6 separate regions of the Homo sapiens genome follow, and regions 2, 3, 4, 5 and 6 are each linked to region 1. The links are contacts of gene promoters, found by promoter capture Hi-C in human tissues and cell types (Jung and others, 2019). All regions are on one chromosome and are shown on one strand. Each heading gives the region's core, a stretch centred on a gene start or on the middle of the fragment in contact. The rest is flanking DNA. Distances are from core to core; before and after follow the strand shown. Region 1 holds the start of SLC25A1 (solute carrier family 25 member 1). Region 2 holds the start of CLDN5 (claudin 5). Region 3 has its middle 40 kb from the start of LINC00895. Region 4 has its middle 18 kb from the start of LINC00895. Region 5 has its middle 21 kb from the start of LINC00895. Region 6 has its middle 63 kb from the start of SEPTIN5.

Region 1 (3,030 bases), core at 386-2,885:
GGAAGGTCGAGTGGCTCACCTTGTTCCCGCACAATCTCCCTAACCCCGTGGAAGAATCCTCTGTACTTGGGGTTTGGGGAGGTCTGGTCGTGGATGAACTTCACCTGAGAGAGAGAAGCAAAGGCGCAGGTTCTCGGCTGCCACCTGGGTGGGTCCTGGCTAGCTGGCAGGCCCAGGGCCCATCCAGGGTGGAGGGAACTGGGAACTCTTCCCCAGGAAGCAGTGCAGCCAAGGCCGCCCTGGGCTGCCCACACGGACCATGCCCCGGGACACAGGGCAGCCCACACGGACCATGCTCTGGGACACAGGGCAGCCCTGTGAGCAGCCTCTCCCTTTATGTTTGCTGCTCTTTTCCAGTTTTGGCAGTGAAGGTGTCATTTTGTTTTCTGCTTTATAAAAGTATTTTTTAAAGACTTTAAGGCTGCCTTTAGCATAGACTCAGCCTCCACGGGTGGCCCTTCGTGGCAGGCGTCCTGCCCCAGGGCCCCGCGGTCACCCCGCCGGCCTTCCCTGGCGTCCAGGAGACCCTCCCCAGCTTGCCGGTTGCCCCGGGAGCACCGGGCCAGCGGGGCCGCCCGTCTCCGTACTCCCTGCGTGTCCGGGGTCCTCGCCAGGACCTTCCCCACCTTGATGGTCTCCATGGGGCACACGACCACCACGGCCTCGGCCACGCCAGCGCCCAGGCCGCACAGCAGCCCACGCGTGCTGTCCAGCCGTCCCTGGGCATCCCGCATGTGGTTGCTGAGGAACTCGAACATTCCAAACCTGGAGGCGGGAGGCGGGTGAGAGGGGCTGCCGCGGCCGAGCCCCCCTCCCGCAGCAGCCACCGGCCGGGCCTCACCTGACGGCCGCCTTGGGGATGGAACCGTAGAGCAGGGAGCTAAGGCCGCGGTACAGGCCCAGGACGCCATGGCTGCGAACCGTCTGCCGCACGCAGTCCCCTGGGGGAGGGGGCGGTCAGGACCCCACGGCCCTCGGTGCCGCCGCCCTGGGTACCCGCCCCCCGCGGCGCCGCGGCCTCCCCCTCCTCACCGATGCCCCGGTACCGCGGCGGGTGCGAGCGCTCGTCCAGCTGCAGCTGCGTCTTCACGTACTCGGTGGGGAAGGTGATGCAGATCTCGATGCCACCCGCCAGGCCGCCTGCAGGGACCGGGAACCCGCTCCTGAGACTCCCGCCCGGCCGCTGGCGCTCGGGCCCCTCCCCCGTCCCGGACTTCGGTCGGCGCGGCCGCCGCGCCAGTGCCGCGGGGAACATAGGCTGGGGCCCCACGCCCCCATGCCCTCACCCCGTTGTCCCGGCGAGGCGCAGGGGGTGACAGACGGGAGGCGGGCGAGTCCCAGCGCGCCGGGTGGGGACCAGGACCGCGCCTCCACGACTCCCCAGCCCACGGCCCAACCCGGAAGTGGGGCGGGGCCTCAGCGTCCCGGGCCCACCCAGAAGCGCGGCGGGAGAGGGGTCCGCGTCCCGGAGGGGCCCACCTGCCAGGATCGCCTTCCCCGGGTGCGTCAGCTTGGCCTTCCCGGACGCGGGCGCGGCGGCCGCCAGAGCGCGCGGGGCGCGGGGCGCGGGCATGGCGGGCGGGAGGCGGGGCGCCCTGTGGCGGCTTCGGGTCCGAGACTCCAGAACTCCGCGCTCGGTCCGCGGTGGCGGCGGCGGCCGGTTATGGTCCCAGGGGCGGGGCGGCCGCGTCAGCTCCAGGTCCCGCCCCGCGTGGTCCGAGCCAGGCCCCGCCCCCAGCCCGCCCCGTGCGGGCCGGGAAACTGAGGCCTGGGCGGGGCGCGCCGAGGCAGGCGTAGGGGCGGGGCCAAAGCGCAGCCAATGGCCGAGGCCGAGTCCCTGGGCGACCGCGAGCGGCGGGACGGGGGCGGGGCTGCGGGAGGCGGAGCCGTGGCCCAGCTCCGAGCAGTGGGTCAAGGTGCACTGTGTGCCGCGCCGCGGGATAGCGGGCCTCGGGTCTGCGCGACTGTCGAGAGCGGCGGGATCCCCAGGGATCCCGGAGGCCAGGGGCACACCCTCCCCGAAAACACGTGGGGCTAGCCCAGTCCCAGAGGAACTCTAACGTTTCAAACCTGGAGGCGGGAGGCGGGAGGCCGGTGAGAAGGGGCTACGCCGCCGGGCCCCCCTCCCGCAGCAGCCACGGGCCGGGCCTCACCTGCCGGTTCCCACCCACACCTTTCCCGGTTGTAGTTTCTGCGCTCAGCGAACAAGGTCAGGAAAGACCACAAATGCAAGCGGCTGTATTCTCCTAGGCAGCTTGTCTGGGCAACGGAGGTCCCACACCCCAAAGAGGACCCAGCAAATCTTTAATGGACTGCGGGGCCTAGGAAACTGGCCCGTCCCTCCTACCCATACCAGCACCAAGCAGAGCACCTTTGCCTGGATAAACCGACTTTAATATTTATGATTGCCAAGAGGCTGAGAGTCCTTTTATGAGGTCCGGTACCTCCAAACAAGACGTGTTCATGTAGTCTTCAAACTGGCCTGGAGGGGGCAGCTCCAGCCAGTCGGAGGCGCCCAGGAGGAAGGCCTGGCTCCAGCAGGAGGGCCCACAGTCCAGTCTCTGTTGTCGGCTAAAGCTGGTCTTGCGCCGTCAGCCTCTACCCTGGCCTCCCCAGGCTCTGGGATGGCTCAGAGGTTGCCGTCATTGGGTTTCAGCAAAAATAAATATTGTCCAGGTGTCCCTGCCTCCCATTGCGTCCCCTGTGCTGCTGGAGTGACATGCTCCTTGGAGAAGTTAGTAACTCTGCAGGTAGGGTGGGTGGTGACAACGCCCACTACACGCGGAAGTTGTACATTGGAGGCTGGCGAAGTTGGGAGCAGAGGCATATCCATAGGGGAAGCTGGCAGGGGCTGGGCCCACGGCAGGGCCTGCAGAGGGGGAAGCCCACAATGAGCAGAGCTCTTCCTGCCCATGGGGGTCCTCTCCTGGCTGCCCCTGAGTAGCCCGGGGCCCAGGGAGCAGGGTCTATAGGACCAGCCCTTACCACCCAGACGCTGAGGCCCCAAGAGAGCAGGCATCCAGAGGCAAG
Region 2 (3,362 bases), core at 200-2,699, 350 kb after region 1:
GGTGGGTGATGAATGGGGCTGCTGGACACGGAAGATGGCTGGACAGAGAACAGGACACAGGTGGGAGAGAGTTCAAACCATTTACTAAGCAGATTCTTAGCCTTCCCACTCCCGCCCTCTCTCAAGCTCCGGTGCCCACAAGCCTTGCCTGGGGAGATGCTGGAGTGAGACCGGGAGGTCCAGGCCAAGTCACTGGTCCCTGGGCTCGGGCCCTGCCGATGGAGTAAAGACCAGCTGTACACATCTTCCGGTGGGGGCCCTGGGCTCTGCATCCGCCCCTCCGAAGTCAGCAGGAGCCTCTGGGAAGTAAGGCAGCAGCCAAGACCCCCAGCGTCTTGGAGGGGAAGCGAAATCCTCAGTCTGACACCCGCTCTGCCTATGGAAACAGCGCCGCGCACAGAAAAGGAAACTTCATTCCGTCTGTTAAGGGCAGGGCCGGGCTAGTGGCAGGAGAAGGTCAGCTGCGGGCGCAGGCAGGAGCGGATCCAGGAGCCGCGTCGGGGCGCAGAGCCGGACGTTCCGAGGAGCCTGCGCGCCGCGCTACCCGGCGGAAGCCGCGGTCCATGCGGGGCTCCCCAGGCTTATCCAACGCCTCGCAGGCGTGGCTGGCAGGAGGGGCCCGGCCGTGCCCAGCGCCCTCAGACGTAGTTCTTCTTGTCGTAGTCGCCGGTGGCCGTGGGCCGCCGCGGCGCTGAGTACTTCACGGGGAAGCTGAGGTCGGGACGGCCGGTGCAGACCCAGGCGCCGCAGCACAAGAGGCAGCCGCCTACCATGAGCAGCGCGGTGGCCGCCCAGCCGATGTACAGCGCTGCGCCCAGCTCGTACTTCTGCGACACGGGCACAGACGGGTCGTAAAACTCGCGGACGACAATGTTGGCGAACCAGCAGAGTGGCACGAGCGCCAGCAGCCCGCAAAACAGGTAGAGCACGCCTCCCGTGAGGGCCACACGCGCCTTGGCCGGGCCCGGGGCCACGCAGGTGGTGCACTGCGCGCCCGCCAGGGTCACGAAGAGCGCAACGAACGCCAGCAGCACGGCGCTCACGGTGAGCGCCCGCGCCGCCTGCACCTCGGTGCTCAGAGCCAGCACCGAGTCGTACACTTTGCACTGCATGTGCCCGGTGCTCTGCACCACGCACGACATCCACAGCCCCTTCCAGGTGGTCTGCGCCGTCACGATGTTGTGGTCCAGGAAGGCGGTCACCTGCCACATGGGCAGCCCGCACGCCAGGATCAGACCCCCCCAGCCCACCAGGCACAGCACCAGGCCCAGGATCTCCAACGCTGCGGACCCCATGGCTAGAGGCGAGACGCGCACCCGAAGGCCCGCAGAACCCCCAAGGCCGTGCTGCGCGGCGCCCTGGGCGGGCCCTGGTGCCTTTGCGCCCGCGCTCCCGGCTCTTGGCCCCAGTCCGTTTGCCCCGCGGGTCTGTCGCACCTCCTGGGTCTGCCAGCTCCTGCCGGGGGGTACCCTCTTTGAAGGTTCGGGGGCGGATTCTGTCCCCCGGGCCCGGCCCCCCGGCCCGAAGCAGCCAATCCGTGCGCGGGTCATCGTGCCGCAGCCAATCACAGAGCCTCTGGCAGCTGAAGTTAGGGAAACAACGGCTCTTGAGGGGTAGCTGAGGGCGCGGGACCGCTCCCCGCCCGGCAGCCGCCCCCAGCCCCACCCGCCGTTGTCCTAGTCGCGGCCGAGCGCATTCTGGGCTGGCCTAGGGCGCGCTTCTTGGGCCGCCTCCCTGCGCGTCCCGGCCCCGTCACTTCAGAAGGCGCTCGACCCCCAGTCTGCACCACCCAGTCCACTCCCACATCCCCGACTGAGCCGGGTGGTCTCTTCCACTCGAGCCAGCTCCACTTCCCTGACCAAGGTTTGCAGAAGCCCCCCACCCCGTCACCGCCGTAGAGGCCCTCGTAGGGGGGCTCTCCAGAAAGCCCGCCCCGGGGTCCAAGCCCCACCCAGGCCCTTTCTCGCACTCTCACTCTCCAGCCCCGCTCTGAGTCCCAGCACTGTCTCTCTCATCCCATGGCAAACAGAGAGGCCAGGCAGGCGTGTGGAGGTCAGGCCCAGGGCCCCAGCCTCACCCCCCATGCCACTCACTGCCTCTCTGGAGCCTGAGTCTCTGGCAAAAAGCGGTGGCACAGGGGCTTTCCCCCTGCCTGGCGACCCCCACTCTCCCAAGCCGCAGGGGCTTCCCAGACCTCTCAATCTTCACAGGGGCTGCTCCTCTTCCTGCGGTACTGCCCGCACCCCATCCTTGGGGGCCCAGTTCAGGTGACACCACTTCAGGAAGTTCCCAGTGACCCAGCACACTGGGTGTAGCACCCAGGGGCAGTGGTGGCCCCAGGCCTAGCAGCCTGCTCTGGCCTTCAGACAGGAGAGACAAAGGGACACGGAGGGGCTGTGCCCTGCCCTCCCACCAGTGGCGATGGTGTCCCTGGCACCCCAGCCCCCAGGCCACCCTCCGGAAGCCAACTTGGAGTTTCCTGGCCAGGAGGAAGAGCCCCCATCCTTGCTGGAGGAGGGAGGCGCGGGATTTCCGGGCATTCTTCTGCACAATGGCCCAGCCATTTCTCGAAAGGTCCACTGGTGTGGACACTCCGGGCCCCCTGAGGCTCAGGTGGGGGCACGCGGCTCCAAAACCCACAGCCCCATGGGGGCACCAGCCCCTTTCTAGTAGTTCTTTCCCCAGTCTCTCTCGGCCCCTTTGTTTCCAGTAAAGTTTGAACTCCAGGCCCTGGACTGAGGCCACTGGGTGCCCAGTTCTTTTATCTGGTCTGTGCTCAGTTCCATTGGACAGGGCCCTCCATAGAAAAAGTATGGCACTGAGGCTGGTCACAGATGTGGGAGGTTTGATGACTTTCTCCCTCCTGGGGCCCGGTTCCCTTCTCCCCCTTCAGATGGCTCTGAGATGGTAAATGAGATAAGGCCAGCGTCTGGCTCACCTAGTGTGGGGAGGTTCTGAAGGCAAGTGTGCCCAGCCCTGAGGCTGGAAGGAAATCATACCCTCTTTGCTCAGCCCCACGTGGCCTCTCCCCACCAGGTATGGCTCTGAGGACCACTGCCTTCTCCCAGCTATCACTTTAGTCACTGCCTTCCTCCTGCTGCAGACCCATGGGCCATGCCCCTTCCTCTACAGACCCTCCTGGACATCTCCTCCTCTGTGTACTCCAGGGGTACAGCTGACCCACCCACCCTCTCACTCTTACTACCCCCTAACCCAAGCCCAGGGAACTTCCCCAGATCCCCCTACTCCCAGCCCTTCCATGCCACCATCTTCCTGGGATGACTGCTGCGGCCTCCTCAGGTCATCAGGGACCTGCCCTTGCCCAGCTAGGCCACCCACCCCACCAGGCCCCTCTCCTGGGC
Region 3 (3,283 bases), core at 680-3,179, 430 kb after region 1:
GGAGTTGGAGGCTGCAGTGAGTTATGATCGTAAAAAATAAAAAGATTTCATGACATGTGAAAACGATCTGAAATTCTAATTCACTGTCCATAAATGAGCTTTACTGGAACACAGTGGTGCCCATTCCTTTTGCTTTGTGTGGGCTGTTTTGCTCCCACGGCAAGGTTGAGTAGCTGGGACAGAGGCCATGTGGCCTGGAGAGCCTAACATATTTACCAACTGGCCCTTCCCACAAGACGCTTGCCAAGCCCAGGCCCTGCGTTCCCTCCCTTCCTGCGATGACAAAGTCAGGTTGGTAGTCACATTTCATGGGGTTGGCACAAACCGTTGGTGCTTAATCGGAGTGGAAGAGGCTGTGCTGGGGGCCAACTGCACAACTGCACGGGTTCCAGAGAGAAGGCAGCGGCCCACATGCCATCAACTGTCCCACACCTGTGGCTGCCAGGGCCTGCCTCCGAGGGACGCCCCCCTCCGCCCGCCGTGTGTTCATTAAGAGGGCCGGGGTCTGTGGTGGCCCCACAGGCAGCGGGCCTCTGTCCTGTGCTCAGGTGGTGCTCTTTGAAGGGTGGCAGGGCCGGGGGCTCCTCTTGTGCTGCCAGAGCTGGTCCCAGAGACCCACCTGCCCAGGGCCAGCCCGTGGGATGGCAGCCCCGTGCGTGACAGTGGCCTTCGCATAGTACCATCTGCTCCCAGTGGGGCGGTTCTAGACTTGCTCTGGGAAGCAGCCTTTCCAGATAACAGGAGACACCCCAGCCAGTCGGTGGGGAAGCAGGCCTGGGGTCGGCCACGGGGACTCTGGAGGGTCTCTTCAGGCCACGGCTGGTGTTTCCTGAGGAAGTGGGGCCGACACAGAAGGGCCAGGGCCGCGTGGTTGAGAAGTAAGGATGAGGATGATGGGGGCTGCTAAGATCCCTGGCCCCATCACTGTGCAGCTTTTCTACTCACTTGTGGTAACAAACGCCCAACATGACATTTATCATCATAACCATTTTTAAGCACCCAGTTCGATAACCTAAGTATATCCTAAGTATATCCTTAGTATAACCTAAGTATATCCGCGTTGTTGTGCATCCAGTCTCCAAAATCCTTTTCATCCTGCAAAACTGAAACACTGTACCCACTAAACCACAACTCTCCTTTCTCCCTTCTTTTCAGCCCCTCCCCAGCTTACCATTCTGCTTTCTGTCTGTGAATTTGGCTATTCTAGAGAACTCATGTCAGTGGACTCACTCCGCATTTGTCTTTCTGTGACTGACTTATTTTACTTTGCATAATATCCGCAAGGTCCATCCACGTGGCGGTGTGTGTCCGAGTTCCCTGCCTCTCCAGGCTGAGTGATGCTGCCTTCTGCGGATGTGTCATCTTTTCTTTATCCATTCATCTCCTCATGGGCACTCAGGTTCCCTCTATCTCTTCAGCATGGGTGGGCATTTGCCCCAATCCTGCTTTCGCTTCTTTTGGATCTACACCTGGAAATGGTGTGCTGGATCAGAGGCTCTTCTTACTTTTAACTTTTGAGGAGCAGCCACACTGATTTCCATAGCAGTTGCACCATCTCACATTCCCACCATCGGCACACGAGGGTCCCACCGTCTGCACATGAGGGTCCCACCGTCTTCATTCACATCCTCACCAGCATGTGTGTGTGTGTGTTTTTTTAATAGCAGTCATCCTAGTGGGTGTGATCCGTTTTGTTTTAAGTAAGGCATAATTTTCATACAACAAAATGCACAGATCTTGTTTCCCATAACAGGAGTTTTGGCTGATGAACTTTCATGAAATCTACATCCCACCCAGGGATAGGACATTTCCGGTGCTCTGGGAAGCTCCCTCTCACCTTTCCCTGTCATCCCTCTCCACCCGGCACCGGGTTGCTGTCACACCGGAAGAGCAGTGCCTGCCCCTGCCCTTGGTGCCGATGCACCCACAGTAAAGACAGAAAGGTTTGCGTGGGCCCAAGCCTGCCTCCCCATTAGGCAGCCCTGCTCAGGGCTGCTCCTCGCACCCGGGGAGGAGGTGCCTGTGCCTCCAGGAGCAGGGAGAGGGCTGGGTTTGCAGGTGCCCTGCATCCAGCTCCAGCCTCTCCCCAGCCCGCTGTGTTTGCTTTTGGAGGGCTGAGCACAGGATGTGCCCGTCCTCTGCCTGATGACAGTGGAGTGATGTCAGGCCAGGTGCTTCCCGGAGGGAGGCAGGGCGTGCAGCCTGCTGCCTGGCAGGGGAGGGGGTGGGCAAGGTTCCCAAAGAGAGAGCTGAGCTACGGGCCGACTATGCATCAGCGATGTTTACAACAGCTTCCCGCCCTCACCAGTTTCGAAGTTTGCGTTTCCATTCTGAGAGCCTCATTTTCAGCCCCACTTGCTGCTAAAGGGCAGTTTATCTTCAGAATCAACATTCGGATAGAATCGCGCACCCTCTAACCTGGGAGCAGAATGTGCTCGGCTTTGACAACTATACAGTTTTTATGAGCAGCAGGTTCCTGAAAAGCTTGTGTTCCCAAGGCCAGGCTGGTGCCACGGGAAGGCCTGTCCCAGGCTGAGCTCCGTCTCTCCTCCCGTGGATTTACTCAGTAACGTTGCAGGAGTCTGAGCCCCGACAGTGTCGTGGGTTCATTCAACCTTCAGCAAATCATTATTCCTGTCAGACGCTTGGGATACAGAGTTGAGCAGGCTGGGAACCAGGGGGCAGACTCAGGGGATGACAGCATCACACATAAATACTCATATCCACCTAAGTGTGCATTCAGGCTGGGTGGTCAGGGGGTCCCTTAGAGGAAGCCACACCAGAAGGGTGGATGGGATTTAGCCAATGAGAAGAGCTGAGGTGGTGAGTCTCAGGGGAGCTCGGATGCAGCCTCTGTGGGGAGGTGTGTGAAGGGCCATGCCCTAAACAGCGTCCAGGGCAGTGGGGTGGCCAGCCCCTGACTGAGGGGGTTAATGGGGGTGGTGATAAGCCCCAGAACCAGAATTGCTTTTCAGGCCTCAGTGGCTCAGATTCCAGAGGCTTTGGTGTCTTTGGCAGAAAGAGACTGAAGTTTCTATTTCAGTTCTCTCAGTGAAAACCAGCATTTCTCACCCAGGCTTTCATGCTTTGGCTGAGTTCTAGGCTCCTTTTCTCCCAAGACATGGAGCAGATTCCAGGCTGGTGGCCGTCTCTGTGTGGTGCCTGAGCTGCGTGGCATCGATGGCTGTGAGCTTTGTCCCCACTGGCTCACGAGCTCACAGGGCCACACTGCCTTCTCCACACCGTACCCCACAGCATCGCGGTGCCAGTGCCTCCTGGCCTC
Region 4 (3,181 bases), core at 567-3,066, 370 kb after region 1:
GACTACAGGTGTGCGCCACCATACCGGGCTTTTTTTTTTTTTTTTTTCGTAGAGATGGGGTTTCTCCATGTTGGCCAGGTCTCAAACTCCCAACCTCGAGTGATCCACCCACCTTGACCTCCCAAAGTGCTGGGATGATACAGGCATGAGACACCACACTCAGCCTTGTTGTTGTTGTTGTTGTTGAGACAGGATCTGGCTCTGTCACCCAGGCTGGAGTGCAGTGGCCTGATCATGGCTCACTGCAGCCTTAACCTCCCAGGTTCAATCAATCCTCCCACCTCAGCCTCCCGAGTAGTTGGGACTACGGGTGCACGCCACCATGCCTTGGTAATTTTTTTGTATTTTTTGTAGAGAAAGTTTTGCCATGTTGCCTGGGCTGGTCTCAAACTACTGGGCTCAAGCATCCACCTGCCTCTGCTTCCCTGAATGCTGGGATTACAGGCGTGAGACACCATGCCTGGCCCTTCATTCCATTTTTTTTTTTTTTTTTTGAGACAGAGTTTTGCTCTTACACCCAGGCTGAAGTGAAGTGGCGCGATCTCTGCTCACTGCAACCTCCGCCCCCCAGGTTCAAGTGATTCTCCTGCCTCAGCCTCCTGAGTAGCTGGGATTACAGGCGCCTGCCACCACGCCCTGCTAATTTTTGTATTTTTAGTAGAGATGGGGTTTCGCCATGTTGGCCAGGCTGGTCTTGAACTTCTGACCTCAGGTGATCCACCCGCCTCAACCTCTCAAAGTACAGGCATGAGCCACCGCGCCTGGCCCCTTCATTCCTTTTTAAGGCTGAGTAAAATTCCCCTATATAGTTATATTACATTTGTTTATCCATTCATCAACCAAAAGTCCACTTGGGGCCAGGGATGGTAGCTTGCGCCTGTAATCTCAACACTTTGAGAGGCCAAGGTGGGAGGACCACTTGAGCCCAGGAATTCAAGACCAGCCTGGGCAACATAGCAAGACCCCTTCTCTACAAAAAAAATTGGCCAGGCATGATGATGCATGCCTGTAGTCCCAGCCACTTGGGAGGCTGAAGTGGGAGGATCGCTTGAGCCTGGGAAGTTGAGGCTGCAGTTAGCAGTGATCGCACCACTGCACGTGAGTCTGGGTGACAGTGAGACTGCCTCAAAAAATGTTTTTAAAAATACAGTCGTATTGGCTGTTCCAAATGATGGTGCCATGAACATGGGTGTACAAGCATGTGCTGCTCTTATGATACAATGCTGATGTGCTCCCCATCAAAAGCTGGGGTCTATATTCCCTCTCCTTGCACCTGGGAAGGTTGTGACAGAAATGATGCTATGTGACTTCCAGGCTAGATCATAAGAGGTGATACAACTTGCTCCTCATCCTCTTTAGTGGCTCACTCTTGGAGCCCAGTCGCCATGTTGTGAGCAACTCAGACCAGACTTAGAGGCCACATGTAGATGTTCCAGCTGGCAGCCAGCATCAACTACCAGATAGAGGGAAAGAGTTTTCCAAGCAACCCCAGCCTCTGTGACTATCTGAGCAAGAACCACCCAGGCGAGCCCAGTCAACCCCAGAGCCATGAGAGATGACAGAAATGACTGTTGCTGTTTCAGGCCACTGAGGTTTGGGGTGTTTGGAGTGCAGCCACTACATGCACCCTACAAAGAAGTCTGCCCTGGGATGGGACCCCCCACATCCCACAGCCACCTCCAAACACAGGACCAGAGACCCCAGGATCAGCAGGCCAAAATGACCATAAAGGAAGCCCAAGCTTGCCACCCTGTCAACGAGGAAGTCCCAGATGGGAGATAGTAATGCGAGAACAAAGGAAAACGTAAGCAACCTTGATGATGTGAAATAATAGTAAAGCTGATGGAAACGGGGAGGTAGAGCAGGAAGATTTCTTCATCTTGCACAGTGGGGTCCGTCATAAAATATCTACAGCAATAGAGGTCTGGGGCAGGTCCAGGCTCCACTAGGTGGCTGTAAGGTGGCTTGTTGGACGGACCCGAGTCACTGGTGTCACTAGTCCCTGAAATCACAGCATCTCCACTGCTCTGACAATGACAGGTTTAGAGGTTAGGCCCCAGCCTGCTGGGTATGCATTTCCTTTAGTGCTGGAGATGGACTCAGAATGCGTATGTGACCCTATGTGGGCCAGCAATTGGCCAGTGCAAGATTGCTGGGGATTCTGGGACCGGGGTCCTTATTTTCAAGATACAGCCATGTGAAAAAATGGCTCCTACCAACACACGAAGAGGGAAACTCCGCACTCCTATTGCTTGGCAGCCATCCTTCCATCACTAAGGGAACCAGCCTTAGGATAAAGCTGAGGGGTGGAGCAATGGAAGGTACTCAGGTTTCTATCACAGTTTTTGTTTGTTTGTTTTTTGAGACAGAGTTTTGCTCTTGTAGCCCAGGCTGGAGTGCAATGGTACGATCTCAGCTCACTGCAACCTCTGCATCTTGGGTTCGAGCGATTCTCCTGCCTCAGTCTCCCAAGTAGCTGGGATTACAAGCGCCCACCACCACGCCCAGCTAATTTTTTTGTATTTTTAGTAGAGATGGGGTTTCACCATGTTGGCCAGGCTGGTCTCAAACTCCTGACCTCAGGTGATCTGCCCGCCTCAGGCTCCCAAAGTTCTGTGATTACAGGTGTGAGCTACTGCGCCTGGCCCCAGCTAATTTTTATATTTTTAGTAGAGATGGGGTTTCACCATGTTGGCCAGGCTGGTCTTGAACTCCTGACCTCAGGTGATCTGCCTACCTCAGCCTTCCAAAGTGCTGGAATTACAGGCATGAGCCACTGCGTCCAGCCTCTATGATGGTTCTGTAAAGCCTGTAAGCTGAACAGCCCTGGAGCCTGCCTTACCTCTGAACATCCACTGGCATGAGCCAATAAATTGCTATATTAAGACCGTTCTAGTTGGATTTTTTTCCTTTTTTTTTTTTTTAGACAGGGTGTCACTCTGTCACCCAGGCTGCAGTGCAGTGGTGTAATCATAGCTCACTGCAGTCTCAAACTCCTGGGCTCAAGCGATCCTCCTCCTTCAGCCTCCTGAGTAGTTTGGACTACAAGAACGTGCCACCACACCTGGTGAATTTTTAAATTTTTCTTTTGTAGAGACGAGGTCGTGCTATGGTCACCCCGGCTAGTTTAGAACTCCTGGTCTCAAGTGATCCTCCCACATCGGCCTCCCAAAGTGCTGGG
Region 5 (3,217 bases), core at 381-2,880, 410 kb after region 1:
AAGACTGCTGTCTAACTCCTGGGCACAAGCAATCTGCCTGCCTTGGCCCAAAGTGCTGGGATTACAGGCATGAGCCACCGCACCCAGTTGTGTTTTTTTGTGTTTTGTTTTTGTTTTTGTTTTTGTTTTGAGACAGAGTCTCCCTCTATTGCCCAGGCTGGAGTGCAGTGGTGCTGAAACAGGAAAAGTTCCCGTGTCCCCCTCGCAGGGCAGGCGATGGGGGTGTGGTTCGCTTCTTCAGTGCCCCACTGCTCAAACCGCTAGGGGAGCATACAGATGGGCAGGCTGTGGGGCTCCGGCCCCAGGGCAATGTCTAGGGGTTAATGTTTACAGCCAGGACCCAGTGGGCATGTGCTACTGTTTGCTCTTTTAGTTTTGCTGTCTATAGGTGGCTTTTGTTAACCAGTTCAATTAGACCCTCTAGGCCTGGCATGGTGGCTCATGCCTGTAATCCCAGCACTTTGGGAGGCCGAGGTGGGCAGATCACTTGAGGTCAGAAGTTCAAGACCAGCCTGGCCCAACATGGCGAAACCCCGTCTCTACTTAAAAATACAAAAATTATCCGGGTGTGGTGGCTCACACCTGTAATCCCACCTATTCGGGAGGCTGAGGCATGAGAATCACTTGAACCCCAGAGGCAGAGGTTGCAGTGAGCAGAGATTGCACCACTGCACTCCAGCCTAGGCGACACAGGGAGACACCATCTCAACAAAAAACAAAAAAAAAAAACAAAAACAAAAACAGAAAAAAAGGACCCTGTACCTTGTTGCGAGGACAGAGGACTTCCTGTATCCGGGTTTTTGACTTGGTGTACCGGAAGAATTGGATCACACGTGGGCTTGGAGAATGAGTGCAAGGTTTTGTTGAGTGGAAGTAGCTCTCAGTAGATGGGGGAGCCAGAAGGGAGATGGAGTGGGAAGGTGGCTTTCCCCTGGAGTCGGGTCGCTCAGCAGCCCAGGCTCTCCTCGACTGCCCTGGCCAAACTCCACGTCGTTCCACCAGTCGAGAGCCTGCCAGTGTCTGCCAGTGTGCTCTTCTGCCAGAGTGCTCCTTTCAACATCCTCTCAAAGTCCAGCGGCTTGCGTCTCCTTCTGCCAGTGTGTTCCTCATGATGTCCAGCCACTTCTGTGTCTGCCTGCTAGGGTCTTGGGGGTTTTCATAGGCACATCATGGGGATGCAGCAGGCCAGGGCATTCTGGGTAAATGCAATGTTTGGGCAGGAGTGCCTATCCTCACCTAGGTACATAGTGGTGGAGCTCTAGCCAGGGACCATGCCCTCCTCTACCCAGCACTTCTCTTCCCCACTCCTGTATCATTTAAAGGGACCACGCTGTTCCCTTCCCAGCACTTCCCTTCCATATCAGCGCTATCATTAGCTCCCTGCAGCCACAAACTCCTGGGCTCAAGTGATCCTCCTGCCTCTGCCTCCCAAGTAGCCAGGACTAAAGGCATGTGTCACCATGCCTGGCTAATTTTTTTAAAAAGTTTTGTAGAGATAGGGTCTTGCTATGTTGCCCAGGCTGAATTAACTGGACTATTGTTCAGGAAACCAAAGTACCAGGCAGTACAATGCTAGATTTGAAGTCTATGAAAATAGTACCCTCTGAATCATTAAGGCGCATCTTCCTATGAGAGGTGGCTTGAGCCAGACCCTGGTGGCCAGGGGCAGTGTCTGTCTGGACCTTCCCACCAACAGGCTGTGCAGCCCTGGCCAGCCCCTATTGCTCCTGTACTCTTTCCTTACCTGCTAAACACACCCAAATCACAGCAGAAATCCAATTCACTTGAAGACAAGGGCTAAGCCTTTCTCATAACCAAAGGCCGTGCGCTTCCCAGAGCAAAAGTCTGTATTTGTCCCCTCATGTTCTGAGCTGCCAGGCAGTAATTCTAGCCTACAGTTACTCAGTGTGACCTAAAATAACAATTACCCAAGAAATGAAATTCTGATAATTTCAAGTAGAATAAAATGGAACATATTTTAGTGAATGGATTGTAAGGAAAAGCCTAAAGATTTGGAACTGCCCATACGTGGCACTTTAAAAATCTTGGGCCCTTTATTTCAGGTAATCAGTTCATAGAGTAAAAACCCATGTGACTGCCAAGACTGGTTATTAGTTCAAGCCCAAGAACACATCTTCAAAGGAAGAGAATGAATTTATCCACAGTTCTGATTGTTTTTTACGTTCTAAAATCACACTTATTATTAAAATATAATTCACTTAATGGTGATGGTAATTACATCAGCCAATTCACTTAAAATGAATGCGCAAAGATGAATGCACAAAAATGCACCATTTTTCAATGAATTGGCTGATGTACTTACCGTCACCATCAAAACGCAGGGTGTTCCCCTTTCCCCGGGAAGCTTCCTTGTGCTGCAGTCTCTGTCAAATCCCTTATTCACAGACCTGGCCAAACACTGGTCACTAGAGATTAGATTTAGCTTTCAGGGTTTCACAGAAGTGGAATCATTCACTCTATGCTGCTTCTTGTCTGGTACCTTTCGCTCAGCACAATGTTTTTCAGCTTTATCTGTGTTGTTACATGTGCCAAACCTTTATTCCTTTGTCGTTGTTGTTTTGAAACAGTCTTGCTTCGTTGCCCAGGCTGGAGTGCATCGGTGCCATTGTAGCTCACTGCAGCCCTGAACTCCTGGGCTCAAATTATCCTCCCGCCTCAGCCTCCCAAGTAGCTGGGATGACAGGTGTGTGCCACTGTGCCCTACTAATTTTTTATTTTTATTTTATTTTATTTTATTTTGAGACAGAGTCTCGCTCTGTCGCCCAGGCTGAGTGCAGTGGCGCAATCTTGGCTCATTGCAAGCTCCGCCTTCTGGGTCTACGCCATTCTCCTGCCTCAGCCTCCCGAGTAGCTGGGACTACAGGCGCCCGCCACCACACCAGGCTAATTTTTTGTATTTTTAGTAGAGACGGGGTTTCACCATGTTAGCCAGGATGGTCTCGATCTCCTGACCTCATGATCCACCCGCCTCGGCCTCCCAAAGTGCTGGGATTACAGGTGTGAGTCACCACGCCCAGCCCATTTTAATTTTTTTTAGAGATGGGGTCTTAACTATGTTGCCCAGGCTGGTGTTGAACTCCCGGCCTCAAGTGATCCTCCCACCTTCGTCTCCCAAAGTGATGGGATTACAGGTGTGAGCCACTGCACCCGGCCACATTTATTCCTTTTGATCGCTGAACAGTACTCCTCAAATGAT
Region 6 (3,203 bases), core at 620-3,119, 470 kb after region 1:
AAAATAGGTTTTAGCACAAAAAATGTTACTAGAAACAAAGTGGGAAGTTTTGTAATAATAAAGGGTATATTCATCAAGAAGATATAACAATGATAAACATATATGCACTTAGCAACAAAGTCCCAGGATACATGAAGCAAAAAATGACAGATTAAAGAGAGAAATAAAGAATTCAACAATAATAGTCATAGAGTTCAAGAGGTCATTCTCAGAAGTTCAACAAGAAAATAGAAGAGTTGGCCAGGTGTGGTGGCTCACACCTGTAATCCCAGCACTTTGGGAGGCTGAGGCGGGTGGATCACGAGGTCAGGAGATTGAGACCATCCTGGCTAACACGGTGAAGCCCCATCTCTACTAAAAATACGAAAGAAAATCAGCCAGGCGTGGTGGCAGGCGCCTGTAGTCCCAGCTACTCAGGAGGCTGAGGCAGGAGAATGGCGTGAACCCAGGAGGCGGAGCTTGCAGTGAGCTGAGACTGTGCCACTGCACTTCAGCCTGGGCAACAGAGTGAGACTCCATCTCAAAAAAAAACCAACAAAAAACAAACAACAACAACAACAACAAAAGAAAATAGAAGAGTTGAACAATATTATAAGCCAACTATAACTAACAGACATCTGTAGAACACTCCACCCACTAGCAGAATATACATTCTTTTCAATTGCACATGAAACATCTTCAGGATAGACCATATATTAGGCCATAAAATGAGTCTCAATAAATTTAAAAGGACTGAAATCATACAAATTGTCTTCTCAAATCACAATGGAATAAAATTAGAAATCAATAGCGGAAGGAAATTTGGGAAATTCACAAATATGTGGAAATTCAACAACACAGTAACCAATGGGTAAAACAAGAAATCGTAAGGGAAATTAGGAAATACTTTGAGATTAAAGAAGAATAAGACACAGCCTACCAAAACTTATGGGATGCACTAAAATAGTGCTTAGAGAGAAATTTAAAGCTATAAGCACCTATATTAGTAAACAAGGAAAATTCAATTTAATAATATAAACTTTCACCTTCAGAAACTAGAAAAGGAAGAGCAAACCAAAAATAATGCAAGTGGAAGGAAGTAAAAAATACAGATTACAGTGGAAATAAATTTTAAAAGAGAAAAGAAAATAATAATCAATAAAACCAAAAGTTGACTTTTCAAAAAAGATCAACAAAGTTGACAGCCTTTTGCTATACTGACTAAGAAAAAAAGTCAGACTCAAATTACTAAAATTAGGAATGAAAAAGAAAACATCACCACCAACATTACAGAAAAATGATTATAAGGGAATACTATGAACAAATGTATGCTGTGGCAGGTGGCATAATGTTCCCCTAAGATGTCTATGTCCTAATCCCTGGAACCTATGAAGATGTTACCTTAAATGGCAGATGGGATTTTGAAGATATGATTAAGTTAAGGATCTTGATATGGGAGTCTTAACTTGGATTATCTGGATGAGCTCAAGATAACCACAAGGATTCTTACAGACGAAAGAGGGAAGCAAGAGGGTTAGAGTCAAAGATTTGAAGATGCTATGCTGCTGGCTTTCAAGATAGAGAAAAGGGTCACAAGCCAAGGAATATAGGTGACTTTTAGAAGCCAGAAAAGGCAAAGGGACAGAGTCTATCCTGGAGCCTCCAAAAGGAATGCAGCCTTGCTAACACCTTGAATTTAGCTCCTTGAAATCCATTTTGGATATCTGACCTCAAGAACTACATGATATTAAATTTGTTTGGTTCTAAGCCACTAAGTGTGTGGAAATTTATCAGTGCAATAGAAAACTAATACACATGCCAACAAGTTAGATAAACTAAATAAAACAGACAAATTTCTAGAAAGTTAGAAACTTCTGAAACTGACTCAAGAAGAAATAGAAGATCTGAATAGAACTACAAGTAAAGAGATTGAATTAGTAAAAAACAAAACAAAACAAACAAAACTTCCCATAAGCAAAGCCTAGGGTGAGATGGTGTCACTAGTGAATTCTACCAAATGCTTAAACAGTATTTAACACCAATACTTTACAGACTCTTCCAAACAGTAAAAAAGAAGAGAACATTTCCCAACTCATTCCATGAATACCCACAAAACAATGCCAGACAAAAGCACACACAAAAGAAAGCTATAAGCCAATATCTTTTAAGAATTTAAATACAAAAATCTTCAACAAAATACTAGCAAACAAAACCCAGCAACATATACAAAGGATTCTGTACTATGAGTCAGTAGCATTTATGTCAGGAGTGCAAAGTTGGTCCAACAATCAATCAATCAAGTCAATCACATTAATAAAAAGATGGGCAAAAAAACACATGAGCATATTAATAAATGCAGAAAGCATCTAACAAAAATCCATCAATCTTTCATGATAAACACTCAACAAACTAGGACTGTAAGGGAATTTCTCAACCTGATAAAAGGCATCCATAAAAACCCCCACAGCTAACATCATAATGGTGGAAGACTGAAAGCTTTCCCCCTATGATCAAGAACAAGACAAAGATGTTCACTCTTACTACCTCTATTCGGCATTGTAATAGAGGTTCTAAACAGGGCAATTAGATAAGAAAAACCACCCAGATTATAAAGAAGCAAAACTATTTCTATTTGAAAATGATGTGATTTTGTATAAAGAAAATGCTAAGAAATCCAAAACAAAAGAAAACAATTACTAATAAACTAGTTCAGCAAGGTTGCAGGATACAAGATCAATATACAGAAATCCATTGTATTTCTATACAGTAGCAATAAGCAATGTAAAAATAAAAGTAAGAAGATAATTCGATTATAATAGCATGAAAAAAATAAAATACTTGGGATAAATTTAACCCAAAAAGTGAGAGACTTGTACAAAACATTGTTGAAAGAAATTAAGGAAGACCCAAGTAAATGGGAAGACATCCTGTGTTTGTGGATTAGAAGATGTACAGTTGGCCAGGCATGGTGGCTCCTGACTGCAATCCCAGCATTCTGGGAGGCCAAGGTGGGCGGATCACTTCAGGTGATCCTGAAGTGGTCAGGTCAGGAGTTCAAGACCTGCCTGACCAACGTGGCAAAACCCCATCTCGACTAAAAATACAAAAATTAGCCAGGCATGTTGGTGGGCGCCTGTAGTCCCAGCTGCATGGCAGACTAAGGCAGAAAATCGCTTGAAATCAAGAGGCAGAGGTTGCAGTGAGCTGAAATTGTACCACTGCAC

Evidence for each region. The method cuts DNA at HindIII sites, captures the fragments that hold promoters and counts their contacts. A contact is called where the count stands out against the background at its distance.
Region 2: the fragment with the promoter of CLDN5 here is called in contact with the fragment with the promoter of SLC25A1 in region 1 in 6 of the 25 tissues and cell types used here (IMR-90 fibroblasts, adrenal gland, lymphoblastoid cells and 3 more).
Region 3: a contact is called between a fragment that was not itself captured here and the fragment with the promoter of SLC25A1 in region 1, in 3 of the 25 tissues and cell types used here (IMR-90 fibroblasts, dorsolateral prefrontal cortex and mesendoderm cells).
Region 4: a contact is called between a fragment that was not itself captured here and the fragment with the promoter of SLC25A1 in region 1, in 1 of the 25 tissues and cell types used here (spleen).
Region 5: a contact is called between a fragment that was not itself captured here and the fragment with the promoter of SLC25A1 in region 1, in 2 of the 25 tissues and cell types used here (dorsolateral prefrontal cortex and lymphoblastoid cells).
Region 6: a contact is called between a fragment that was not itself captured here and the fragment with the promoter of SLC25A1 in region 1, in 4 of the 25 tissues and cell types used here (dorsolateral prefrontal cortex, lymphoblastoid cells, mesendoderm cells and 1 more).

Annotation. Positions count from the first base shown.
Region 1 is chr22:19,177,101-19,180,130 of GRCh38, forward strand. It overlaps SLC25A1 (solute carrier family 25 member 1), which reads right to left and starts at 1,636. Exons shown (of 9, transcript NM_005984.5): 1 at 1,480-1,636; 2 at 1,033-1,140; 3 at 842-941; 4 at 627-765; 5 at 20-104. The coding sequence starts at 1,573. CLTCL1 (clathrin heavy chain like 1) reads right to left here. Exons shown (of 33, transcript NM_007098.4): 33 at 2,373-2,869. RefSeq lists silencers at 853-1,932, 2,133-2,232 and an enhancer at 934-1,681. The HindIII fragment of the contact is 9,906 bases long and covers 1-3,030 here.
Region 2 is chr22:19,522,961-19,526,322 of GRCh38, forward strand. It overlaps CLDN5 (claudin 5), which reads right to left and starts at 1,450. Exons shown (of 1, transcript NM_001363066.2): 1 at 67-1,450. The coding sequence starts at 1,295. The coding sequence ends at 639. RefSeq lists an enhancer at 1-65. The HindIII fragment of the contact is 10,668 bases long and covers 1,220-3,362 here.
Region 3 is chr22:19,605,438-19,608,720 of GRCh38, forward strand. No RefSeq gene overlaps it. Among named protein-coding and RNA genes, the nearest start is that of LINC00895, 40 kb to the left of the region's middle. RefSeq lists enhancers at 1-488, 489-1,056, 1,539-2,112. The HindIII fragment of the contact is 6,740 bases long and covers 1-3,283 here.
Region 4 is chr22:19,547,632-19,550,812 of GRCh38, forward strand. No RefSeq gene overlaps it. Among named protein-coding and RNA genes, the nearest start is that of LINC00895, 18 kb to the right of the region's middle. The HindIII fragment of the contact is 6,562 bases long and covers 1-3,181 here.
Region 5 is chr22:19,586,026-19,589,242 of GRCh38, forward strand. No RefSeq gene overlaps it. Among named protein-coding and RNA genes, the nearest start is that of LINC00895, 21 kb to the left of the region's middle. The HindIII fragment of the contact is 3,211 bases long and covers 26-3,217 here.
Region 6 is chr22:19,649,467-19,652,669 of GRCh38, forward strand. No RefSeq gene overlaps it. Among named protein-coding and RNA genes, the nearest start is that of SEPTIN5, 63 kb to the right of the region's middle. The HindIII fragment of the contact is 5,730 bases long and covers 1-3,203 here.